Regions from separate parts of the Homo sapiens genome. Here regions 2, 3 and 4 are each linked to region 1. The links are contacts of gene promoters, found by promoter capture Hi-C in human tissues and cell types (Jung and others, 2019). All regions are on one chromosome and are shown on one strand. Each heading gives the region's core, a stretch centred on a gene start or on the middle of the fragment in contact. The rest is flanking DNA. Distances are from core to core; before and after follow the strand shown.

Region 1 (2,840 bases), core at 307-2,806:
GACAGCTTCCACTCCAGAAAGAAGGCGAAGGATGAGTTTCTTATCCTGAGCCCAGCTTTGGCTCTGGTCAGCAGGTGCACAAAGTGCCATCCGTACCAAACAGGGCAGAAGAAGTCTTAATTCTGGATCACTTAAAGATGCCAGGCAAACAACATCCACCTTCTGCATTGCCTCAAAAGCAAAAGGGCTGACAAACTGAAGACTTGTACATTCAGTCATTATTACTGTTTGTTGATCCTAATGGTAAAAATACAAATGAAAGTAGGAGTTTAACTTTCACATGTATGAACACCCAACTTTCTAAAAACCCTGAAAAATGTGGTGTATCTTTAATAGGTCCCTATGTTGGCAATGTTCCTGGCACAATCAAGACAAGGCTTCTCTGTCTCCCTAGGTTTATACTGTCACCTGGGAAATGGGAAAGAAAACAGAGTATATTAATGTCTCTTCCAGCCTCAGGAATCTTCTGCTCTAATACTCATATTTTACAAAGAAGGAATATGAAGCCCAGAGAGATGAAGTAACACGCCCAAAATAGTATTACTAGTTAGAGGCACAATCCAAGGCTGAATCCTCATCTACTAAAATCCCAGTCCAAGACTTTCTCCACTATATCAGTCACATGAGCTCCACAAAATGTAAACAAAAGTGAATGGTCATAGTTAAGTGCTTTCTTTCATACCCCGATAGTTTCACATGCCTACCCCGATATACATCAAGAACTATTGGGCTTCTCTTTCTCACCCTCCATGAGTCGGTGGAAAAACTAGCAAATCACTGGGCAGAACCAATGCCAGATTCAAGGCTCTGGAGGCCACAACACTATCCTATGTCCCCTGTGTTACCGGGTAAAAAGCAGATGTGTGGGTGCTATGTGAGAAAGACGCGTCTCATTAGCGCACTTCTCTGTCTCCAGGAATCATCCAAGGCACAAAAAGTAAACAAAAAGGCAGTGAGCTGGCAGCCAAAGCAGTCCCCTCTCAAGGCCGACCGACTAGCAGCAGCGTGGGTAAAAGTCGTGGGTAAAAACTGCTTTGCTTTCAGGGAGGGGCTGCTCTTTTAACAGAGGGGCGGGCTGACTGGAGCAGAGGAGCCAAGACCTGCGTGCTCCTCCGTCTCGCCCCGGGCGCAACTAGAACCAATAAGTCCCTCAGGCTGAGCAAAGTCTGGCCAGGCTCCGACACGGACCTAGGAACGCGCTGAGGCCAGAGAAGCGGACGCTTCATACCTTAAGATCTACCCTCCAGCCTCACGGAACCGCACACGGACTCCGCGTCCTAGAGGCGGGACGCGGCAGAAATCGAGAGCGCGGTCCGATGTTGGGCCTAGGCGATATCCGGAACCCCAAACCCTAGTTGTGCCTCGAGTCGACTCGGACACCAAGAACTCAGACGCCGGGACCAACCGGGTTGTCGATACAAAGTGGGAAGGATGGGGGCACCACACAAAGGCAGAACCGGGACTGTAGGAACGGAAAAGCGGGAGACTTTTTCAACCTGCACCCAGCACCTTCATTCATCCCCAGCGTCTGACTCCCGTCGGCCACCGTACTGGTCTGAGAGGAAGGGTGGCTGCGAGAGGAAAGGCAGAGACGTCGGCGCCAATGCAACTGTGCGCGTGCGCGGCCCCGCCCCTTTCTCCACTTTATTTGCCCTGCCCTACTTGTTCGCCAAAAATTTAGAAATGTGATTCTGGTAGGCTCTGATTTCCAGAGCCTACCAGCTCCTTCCTTTTAGACAAGCAAGCCACTGAGCCCCTCAGAACTTAAATTTCATCATCACAGGATTGCCATGGCATTCAAATGGCATAACGTGTGTTAAAATCGTTCCCACTATTCTTTGACACTAGTGGTACCAAACTGTACTCTTTAAATCTTTGCCTGTGCCTTCCCAGAACCAAAATTCTAGAATCCCAGGATTTGTGGGAGAATTTTAAAAGTGATCTAACCCCAAACTTTCTTCCGCTCTTGACCTCACACCTCCGCTGTCAGAAGTTAAACACCTTCCTTTCAGGTTCTTAACTTGGGGGACCCATAGAACCTTAGAGAGGCAATGCACGGGGATTCAGGAATTCTCTGGAATCCGTTCAGAACTGAGTGCTCGGCACTTCTTCTGGGAAGAGGGTCCAAAACTTTCAACAACTTCTCAAAGGAAGTCTGATCACTCAGAAAAGAACCACTAGTCTATATATGAAGAACCGCTAGTCCATATGTCTTCATACTATTTATTGTTCCTAGTTCGATCAACGTTTATTTGGCAACTTCTATTTACCAGATATTGTGCTAGGAGCTGGAAATAAAAATATTTTACAAAGATATAGCACTTTATAACCTCTTTAAAAATAAAGTCAGAGCCGGGCGTGGTGTCTCATGCCTGTAATCCCAGCGCTTTGGGAAGCCGAGGCGGGCGGATCACCTGAGGTCAGGAGTTCGAGACCAGCCTGACGCAACATGACTAAACCCCAACTCTACAAAAAATATAAAAATTAGGCCGAGCACGATGGCTCATGCCTGTAATCCTAGCACTTTGGGAGGCCGAGGCAGGCAGATCACGAGGCCAGGAGTTCGAGACCAGCCTGACCAACATGGTGAAACTCCGCCTCTACTAAAAATGCAAAAATTAGCCAGGCGTGGTGGTGTGCGCCTGTAATCTCAGCTACTTGGGAGGCTGAGGCGGGAGCATTGCTTGAACCTGGGAGGCGGAGGTTGTGGTGAGCTGAGATCGTGCCATTGCACTCCAGCCTAGGCAATAAGAGCGAAACTCCGTCTCAAAAAAAAAAAAAAAAAAAAAAAATTACCCCAGCGTGGTGATGGAGCACCTGTAGTCCCAGCTACTTCGGAG
Region 2 (2,853 bases), core at 341-2,840, 41 kb after region 1:
TACACCTTCTCCCTCTAGTTCTGTGAGTCACTGATTTTTGTTATTAGAAGCCCAATGTTAAATAAATTTAAAACATTGGATTAAGCAAACTTAGAAGAGTTCTTTACTGTAAGAATTTCAAAGCCTTTAAAAACCTAATATGAATTGTAAATCTCTAAAAGGTAATATAATATACAATGTTTCCCCAAGCCTATTTAACTATGGAACTTTTTCTCTGAGAGGATTTTACCGGACTGATATTCCAAATAACACCCTTTGGGAAATGTTTATTTATTAAAAACACACTACAAATACCTTGTAATTATGTGGAAAATTTTAAAAGGAAGCTAAACTAACATACACTAACATTCAGATTGTATAAGGAATCAAAATTTAAAGACTAAATTTCGAAGCCTTTGTGGAAAAAGGAGGGAATAATAAAGTAAGACTTTATGTCCCATAACACTTATAATTTACAATTATTGCGCCTGGTGATGGATATGTGAGAATTATAACTTAAAAGAAGAGGCAAGAATTTCAGACCTGAAATGGACCTTAGTGATATCTAGCATAGATTTATTTTACATATGAGGAAAGTGAGGCCTAGTGTCACTACCTGAAATCCTAGAGAATAAAGACTAGAATTTTTGTAAATGTAACTTTTTTCCTGGCTATTTAACATTGTTACCCTTTGTTTTAGAAAAAGCCACATTAAAAGGGATATATATCTATATGCCCTCAATGTTTCTTCCTCCTATAGGGGGATAGCCACTCTGACCCACGGCATACACATCTAACAGACTGGGTCAAACTCAGCAAAGAATGTAACTGGCTAGTATGAGAAATAAACATCTAATCTGACATCATCACTGTGTCCCAATCAACTGAACTGCCCAGTATGCTGTATATACAACAATACAAATCGTAAGGTAGTTTTAAAATGTCATCTCTTTTTAAACACCTACCTCATATATTGCAGTAAGATCTCTAAAAAAGCTTTTTGCTCCATTTAACAAGGCTTCATTTTCTGGACACAGTACAACATAGGCTATATCTCTTTGAGATCCATAGGGTTCCAGCATAAGTCTCTCCCAATAAGGAAGAGCAAATGGAGAAAGCACCAGATAATCATAATCATAACCCAACAAAAATGTGGGGATTGGCAGTGGTTCTGGGGATTCATCAGTTCCTAAATAAGAAAGATGTATTTTAAGAAAACACTTAAAAACAAGACATGTCTCCTTTTTATTTATTTATTTATTTATTTATTTTTTGAGACAGAGTCTCGCTCTGTCGCCCAGACTGGAGTGCAGTGGCGCCATCTCGGCTCACTGCAAGCTCCGCCTCCCGCGTTCACGCCATTTTCCTGCCTCAGCCTCCTGAGTAGCTGGGACTGCAAGTGCCTGCCACCACGCCTGGCTAATTTTTTGTATTTTTTAGTAGAGACGAGGTTTCACCGTGTTAGCCAGGATGGTCTCGAGCTCCTGACCTTGTGTCCGCCCACCTCGGCCTCCCAAAGTGCTGGGATTACAGGTGTGAGCCACCATGCCCGGCCTCCTTTTTATTTAAATGTCAAAAGTTAATGAAGTCATTATTAGTGAAAATATTTTATTAGAGACAAAAATACTTAATGCCAGTGGTCAAGACTTTTCAACATTAAGGAATTTCCTAAACAAGTCTTTTTATTTACTTATTTTTTTGAGACAGGGTCTTGCTCTATTGCCCAGATTAGACTGCAGTGGAACAATCACGCCTTACTGCAGCATTAACCTGCTGGGCTCAAGCAATCCTCTGTCCTCAGCTTCCCGAATAGCTGGGACTACAGGTGTGTGCCACTATGCTTAGCTAATTTTTAAAGTTTTTGTAGAGATGGGATCTTGCTGTGTTGCCCAGGGTGGACTCAAACTCCTGAGCTCAAGTGATCCTCCTTCCTCAGCCTCCCAAAGTGCTGGGATTACGTGCAGGAGCCACCACGTCTGGTCTGCATTTAAATTTTTGGCATGGGGCTGGGTGCAGTGGCTCACACCTGTAATTTCAGCACTTTGGGAGGCCGAGGTGGGCAGATCACCTGAGGCTGGGAGTTTAAGACCAGCCTGACCAACATGGAGAAAGCCTGTCTCTATTAAAAATACAAAATTAGCCGGGCATGGTGGTGCATGCCTGTAATCCCAGCTACTCAGGAGGCTGAAGCAGAATTGCTTGAACCCAGGGGGTGGAGGTTGCGGTGAGCTGAGATTGCACCAGTGCACGTCAGCCCAGGCAAAAAGAGCAAAACTCCATCTCAAAAACAAACAAACAAAAAATTGGCATAAAAATACACTGTAGGCCAGGTGCTGTGGCTCATGCCTGTAATCTCAGCACCTTGGGAGACTGAGGTGGGAGGATTACTTGAGCCCAGGAGTTTGAGGCCTAGGCAACATAGTGAGACACCATCCTTATTTATACATTTAAAAATAATATAATTTAAAAAATAGAAAAAAGAAAAAACCTTACTAAGAGCGCAGATCTCATGTTAAGTGTTCTTTCTTTTAGTTTTTTTTTGTTTTGTTTTTGAGACAGTCTTGCTCTGTTGCCTAGGCTGCAGTGCAGTGGTGCGATCTCCACTCACTCCAACCTCCACCTCCTGGGTTCAAGCAATTATCTCACCTCAGCCTCCTGAGTAGCTGGGATTATAGGCACACATCACCATACCGGGATAATTTTTGAATTTTTGGTAGAGATGGGGTTTCACCATGTTGGCCAGGCTGGTTTCAAACTCCTGACCTCAAGTGATCTGCCCACCTCGGCCTCCCAAAGTGCTGGGATTACAGGCGTGAGTCGTCATGCCTGGTGAGTGTTCTTACCATAATAAAAAAATTTTTAAAAGAAAATGAC
Region 3 (3,232 bases), core at 422-2,921, 62 kb after region 1:
CAGGCACGTGACCCTATGCCCAGTTAATTTTTTTTTTTTTCCTCGAGTTGGGGTTTTGCCATATTGCCCAGACTGGTCTTGAGCTTCTGGGCTCAAGCAATCTGCCCACCTCTGTTTCTGAAGTGCTGGGATTACAGGTGTGAGCCACCTCACCTGGCCTGTATTTTTCTATCTTTCTGAAATGTAAACGAAGAACAGAACAATGATCAAGAGCTGACTCTTGGGCCAGACAGACTTTAATCTGAATCCCAGCTCCACCACTAACAGTATGACCCTCGACAAATTACTTAATGTCTCTGTGCCTCAATACCAAGAATAAAATGTAATAGAATGTTGGTAATGTGCTTCGCCCAGTACTAGGTGCTTAAGTACTAGATAAATATTACCGCTTAGTTACCGTACTACAATTTTATTTTCCTACCCTCTCGCCCTGTTTTAGGGTAACAAAAACATGATACCAATTACAATGAAAATTAAACTCCCAATATATTCCTGCACAAGAAAAACAATTTGATACATAACCTTCCAAATCATTCTCTGTTAACTGACTTGAGAGTCCTCGTTTTCAGAAAGATAAAAGTCACTTCCCCAGTGTCTCTGGTGTGTCAGTTCTAAAGATTCACTAGAGTTGTGCCTTTGAAATTTTAAAAGTAAAAATCATCTAAGATACTTACTAAAAACCAAGATTTTGAAGCTCCACCTTGGAGATACTCCAGAATGTAGCATATGTCTCACATTTTGAGAAAGCTGAACTACAGGCACAAGAAGGGGCTTACATGTTTCCTATATCCCAGGGAACATCCTAGCATAGGTAAGTAGCCCAAACAACCCAATTTGTTTCCGAGTTTTTTCGTTTTTTTTTTTAATGTATGTATTGTGAAATGACTAAATCAAGCTACTGAACATATTCATTACCTCATATACAGGTACTTTTTTTTATGTTGGGAACACTTAAAATCTACTCTGAATTTTCAAATATACAATCTATTATTAATTGTAGTAACCACAATTTACAATAGATCTCTTGAACTTATTCCTCCCAACTGAAATTTTGTGTCCCCTGGCCATCCCCATTCCCCTACCCCCAGTCTCTGGTAATCACCACTTTACTTTCTACTTCCATGAATCCAGCTTTTTTTTTTTTTTTGAGACAGAGTCTCGCTCTGTCGCCCAGGCTGGAGTGCAGTGGCGTGATCTCGGCTCACTGCAACCTCTGTCTCCCGGATTCAAGCGATTCTCCTGCCTCAGCTCCCAAGTAGCTGGGACTACAGGTGTGTGCCACCACACCCGGCTGATTTTTTGTATTATTAGTAGAGACGGGGTTTCACTGTGTTAGCCAGGATGGTCTCAATCTCCTGACCTCATGATCCACCTGCCTTGGCCTCCCAAAGTGTTGGGATTACAGGCGTGAGCCACCACGCCCAGCCATATATTTTAATTTTTAAAATATTTAACATTTGATTGATTGATTGATTGGAGATGGAGTTTCACTCTTGTCACCCAGGCTGGAGTGCAATGGAGCGATCCTGGCTCACTGCAACCTCCGACTCCTAGATTCAAGCAATTCTGCCTCAGCCTCCCAAATAGATGGGATTACAGGTGCACGCCACCACACCTGGCTAATTTTGTATTTTTAGTAGAAACGGAGTTTTGCCATGTTGACCAGGCTGGTCTCAAACTCCTGACCTCAGGTGATCTGCCCACCTTGGCCTCCCAAAGTGCTCGGATTACAGGCATGAGCCACTGCACCTGGCCTATTTATTGTTTTTACACAGATAGGGTCTCACTACGTTGGCCAAGGTGGTCTTGAACTCCTGGCCTCAAGCAATTCTCCTACTGTGGCCTCCCAAAATACTGAGATTATAGGCATGGGCCATGACACTTGGCCTTGCAGCAGACTTTCAAATCAGGTAGTGTGATGCCACCAACTTTGTTCTTTTTGCTCAAGACTGCTTTAGCCATTCAGGGCCTTTTGTGACCCTATACACATTTTAGGATTGTTTTTTCTATTACTGTGAAAAGTGTCATTGGAATTTTGATAGGGATTGCTCTGAATCTGTAGATCACTCCGGCAAAGAATCCAAACTGTTGAATTTTCAAGCTACCTAGACCATTTGTTCATTGTTCAGATAGATTTTTTTCTTATTTTTGGTTATCCACAGACTGACCCTCTATTTATTCCAAATATTAAAACTTTGTCATCGAAAACACACACCAGAAGATGACTTACTTTGCCCACATCAAAAGTTAAATGGATTTTGCTGTACATCATAGTGAATAATAACATATTGTATACTTGCAAATTGCTGAAAGTAGATTTTAAGTATTCTCACCCACACGCACAAAAAAGGTATGTAAGGTAATGCATATGTTAAACAGCTTGATCTACCCATTCCACTATATATACATACACACACATATACACACACACATATATATACACACTCACACATATATATGTAAAATAATTCCAAGTGTTTGCTCACTGAAGACTTGACAGTACTTTCAAGCTTATAGTTGTGGGGTTACAATAGGAGACTAACAATTCTCCTCATACCAGTCTCCATTGTTTAAATTATAACTGAAAAATGATTTAGAATAAGATAAACTGTAACTGTGTTGTGACACAGAATATGAGTAAAATGTTAAAAAAATGTAAATATATATATATTTTTTAGTATGTGTGTATATATGTATAGGGTCTCACTATATATATATATACACACACACACTTGGCGCACTGTGTATATATATATATATATATATATACACACTCCCCCCCAAAACATCATGTTGTATACCATAAATATATATAATTTTTACTTGTCAATTAAAAAAATTATTTTACAAGTTAAATGGGTTTTGTAAATGAATTACTATACTATGTCTCTCTATTCCATTCACAAGGAGTTTAAGTCAGACATATTCAAAGTGGAGTCTTGACCACTGTGTCCCCAATACCCAAACAGTACCTACACATAACAGGTGCTAACTAAGTATTTGTTGAATTAGTGGCCTCAGAACAGCTCTCTTAACTTGTGTGTGTGGGAAGAAAATGACAGCAAAATTCCAGTAAAGTTTAATTTAGAAATTGTGGTTTTAGATCTGAAGGACCTTAGGCAATGACCTTATCTCCTCATTTTACAGGTGAAAACTTTAAAACATTTTACTCCTATTTATTCTATGTCACAACACAATCATAGTTGAGCTTATTCTAAATCATTTTTCAATT
Region 4 (2,789 bases), core at 174-2,673, 35 kb before region 1:
GGAAGTAATTGAGGATGAAGTGGAGTAGAGGTTTCACACAGCTGTCTATAAATCCAATCCTAAGAAAGAATGTTATAGACACTGAATTAATTGTGGCAAAAAGAAAAACCAAGCAAAATTATAAAAGTACATACAGTTTTACATGAATTATGAATCAGTAAAACTCACTATTAACTTTTGGCAGTTCCAAATATATTATCTAGTATCATAACTGCCTTTGATTTTAAAATATGAACTACCATTATATCTGTATCATCTTAGGTGCACCCTCCACTAGAAGCTTGCCTTTCGGTTTAATCTATTAGTTTTTAAGTAGTGGGAAAAACATTTTAAGTCCCTACCATATCTGTATTTAGAGCACCATGTGTGTCGTCATGGGAGAGCTCACGTTAGATAGGAATTTGGAGAGAGAGAGATAGGTCCTTCACAGCAAACCCTCAGATAGACTAAGAAAATGTCTCTGAAAAGCACTTACAGGAGACTTATCACTTAACTATCATTGGATGGAGGACATGTAAAATGTTGGGGGTGCATGTGAACTCTTAATTCTTAGCTATTTTACTTGCTAAAAATATAAAGCAGATGATGCAATCTGGCTGGAAAATAATCTCACTAAATCACAAAAAACAAGCAACAATTAAAAAGTGATATATCATGCATATATTATTCACTGTTCTTTGTAAATATCTGAAAAAGTTTCAGTCTACTTTACCTCCTGGGTCTTAATACCTTCTCTTTAGAGGGCCTTTTAACTTGTTAGATATAGCCAACTAAGACAAATCAAAACATGTCAAAATTCTAAGTTAGGTGTGAGGTGTCCTTATGACAAATCAACAAATACTAGTCATGGCAGCTTCCCCAATTTGTAAAACAAAACCAGGCCCACTGCAGTGGCTCATGCCTGTAATCCCAACACTTCGGGAGGCCGAAGTAGGAGAATTGCTTGAGACCAGGAGTTCAAGACCAGACCAGCCTGGGCAAAATAGCGAGACCCTGTCTCTACAAAAAAACACTTTTTAAAGCCAGGTATGAGGCCAGGCACGGTGGTTCATGCCTGTAATCCCAGCACTTTGGGAGGCCGAGGTGGGTGGATCACGTGAGGTCAGGAGTTTGAGACCAGCCTGGCCAACATGGTGAAACCCTGTCTCTACTAAAAATTAAAAAAAAAAAAAAATTAGCCAGGCATGGTGGCAGGAGCCTGTAATACCAGCTACTCAGGAGGCGGAAGCAGGGGAATCACTTGAACCCAGGAGGCGGAGGTTGCAGTGAGCTGAGATAGCACCACTGCACTCCAGCTTGGGCAACAAAGTGAGACTCCATCTCAAAAAAAAAAAAAAAAAAAAAAAGCCAGGAGTGGTGGCTCGCACCTGTAGTTCCAGCTACTTAGGAGGCTGTGGCAGGAGGACTGCTTGAGCCCAGGAGTTTGAGGTTACAGTGAGCTATGACAGCCTGGGCGACAGAGTGAGACCCTGTCTTTAAAATTAAAAAAAAAAATTAGAAAATGGCAGTTTCTAAGTTTTAATAAAATAGCCATGTGCCACTATTGAGAATTTAAATGGAGTATTATGCATTTTGAAAATCTTACATTGTTTTAAAAATCTGAAATTACTGTATAATTATATAATTATAATTACTATCCCTAATTACTATACTTATATAAATGACTAGTAACTTAGCTTAATACCACACATTTCCTACACAAAACCCACAATAAATGCCTACAAACTGAAATACAACTGGGGAGAAAGCATTAATTTAGGTTGTTCTTTGAAATATAAATGTAGGCCAGGCACAGTGGCTCACGCCTGTAATCCCAGCACTTTGGTCGGTTGAGACAGGCATATCACTTGAGGTCAGGAGTTCGACACCAGCCAGCCAACACGGTGAAACCCTGTCTCTACTAAAAATACAAAAATTAGCCGGGCATGGTGGCACACACCTGTAGTCCCAGCTACCTGGGAGGTTGAGGCAGGAGAATCACTTTAACCCAGGAGGCAGAGGTTACAGTGAGCCAAGACTGCACCACTGCACTCCAACCTGGGTGACTGAGCAAGACTCCATCTCAAAAGAAAAAAAATATATATATAAAAATGTAGGGGCATGCTTTTATTTTGTTTTATTTGTAGGGGCATACTTTTATTGACACTTTGTGCTTGGTAAAGGAACGGCTCCTGAGAAGCTGGTAAATACAATGAATAGGCAAAAATCCAGTAATGTTGGCACTCAGGTTGCTGGTGACAGGGACCCGAACTGCATGAGCTGTGACAACCTAAAAGGGAAAAATAGCATTAGTAATATAATAGAACTAAATATAAAATTATTTTGAAAGAGAGATTAGTAAGTAGACTGTCAACACCTAATACAAGTGTGGTCCCTAGAAATGAATGATGAAAATAAATTATTACATGTTTTAATTGTCTTTGAATGCTGAGGAAATGTACATTTAGGGATTTATATAATTCCCTAATTTTTTGTTTATAAACATAGATACATACACAGTGGTGTGATAAGGTAAAAAAATAAAATAAAATTTTGAAGCATACAATCTGGGCTCAATGACTTTGAAGAAGTCATTTATCTTCTGAATCTTTTTCACATCTACAAAACAGGACACTGCCATACCTGCCTCAAAGCATTGTTATGGGGGGAAAATATTCTTTTTGGAAAAACATCATATGAACTATAAAGCACCACATAAATATAAACAGAAATATTTATTCTCAATATGTCATGCATAGGCTCTAATCGTCTTTTAAAGACCCTCTTCAAAGTTGTCTTCCAATTGGTTC

The links. Contacts are between HindIII fragments. The study calls those that stand out against the background at their distance.
Region 2: a fragment that was not itself captured here is called in contact with the fragment with the promoter of INTS2 in region 1 in 1 of the 25 tissues and cell types used here (IMR-90 fibroblasts).
Region 3: a contact is called between a fragment that was not itself captured here and the fragment with the promoter of INTS2 in region 1, in 2 of the 25 tissues and cell types used here (H1 embryonic stem cells and mesenchymal stem cells).
Region 4: a fragment that was not itself captured here is called in contact with the fragment with the promoter of INTS2 in region 1 in 1 of the 25 tissues and cell types used here (lymphoblastoid cells).

The regions. Positions count from the first base shown.
Region 1 is chr17:61,926,426-61,929,265 of GRCh38, forward strand. INTS2 (integrator complex subunit 2) reads right to left here and starts at 1,557. Exons shown (of 25, transcript NM_001351695.2): 1 at 1,229-1,557; 2 at 1-237. The coding sequence starts at 219. RefSeq lists a silencer at 1,588-1,687. The HindIII fragment of the contact is 16,998 bases long and covers 1-2,840 here.
Region 2 is chr17:61,967,091-61,969,943 of GRCh38, forward strand. MED13 (mediator complex subunit 13) reads right to left here. Exons shown (of 30, transcript NM_005121.3): 18 at 945-1,168. Among named protein-coding and RNA genes, the nearest start is that of INTS2, 41 kb to the left of the region's middle. The HindIII fragment of the contact is 4,125 bases long and covers 1-2,853 here.
Region 3 is chr17:61,987,883-61,991,114 of GRCh38, forward strand. All of the region lies in intron 11 of MED13 (mediator complex subunit 13), which reads right to left. Among named protein-coding and RNA genes, the nearest start is that of INTS2, 62 kb to the left of the region's middle. The HindIII fragment of the contact is 7,657 bases long and covers 1-3,232 here.
Region 4 is chr17:61,891,631-61,894,419 of GRCh38, forward strand. INTS2 (integrator complex subunit 2) reads right to left here. Exons shown (of 25, transcript NM_001351695.2): 13 at 2,135-2,269; 14 at 1-59. Among named protein-coding and RNA genes, the nearest start is that of BRIP1, 29 kb to the left of the region's middle. The HindIII fragment of the contact is 3,437 bases long and covers 1-2,789 here.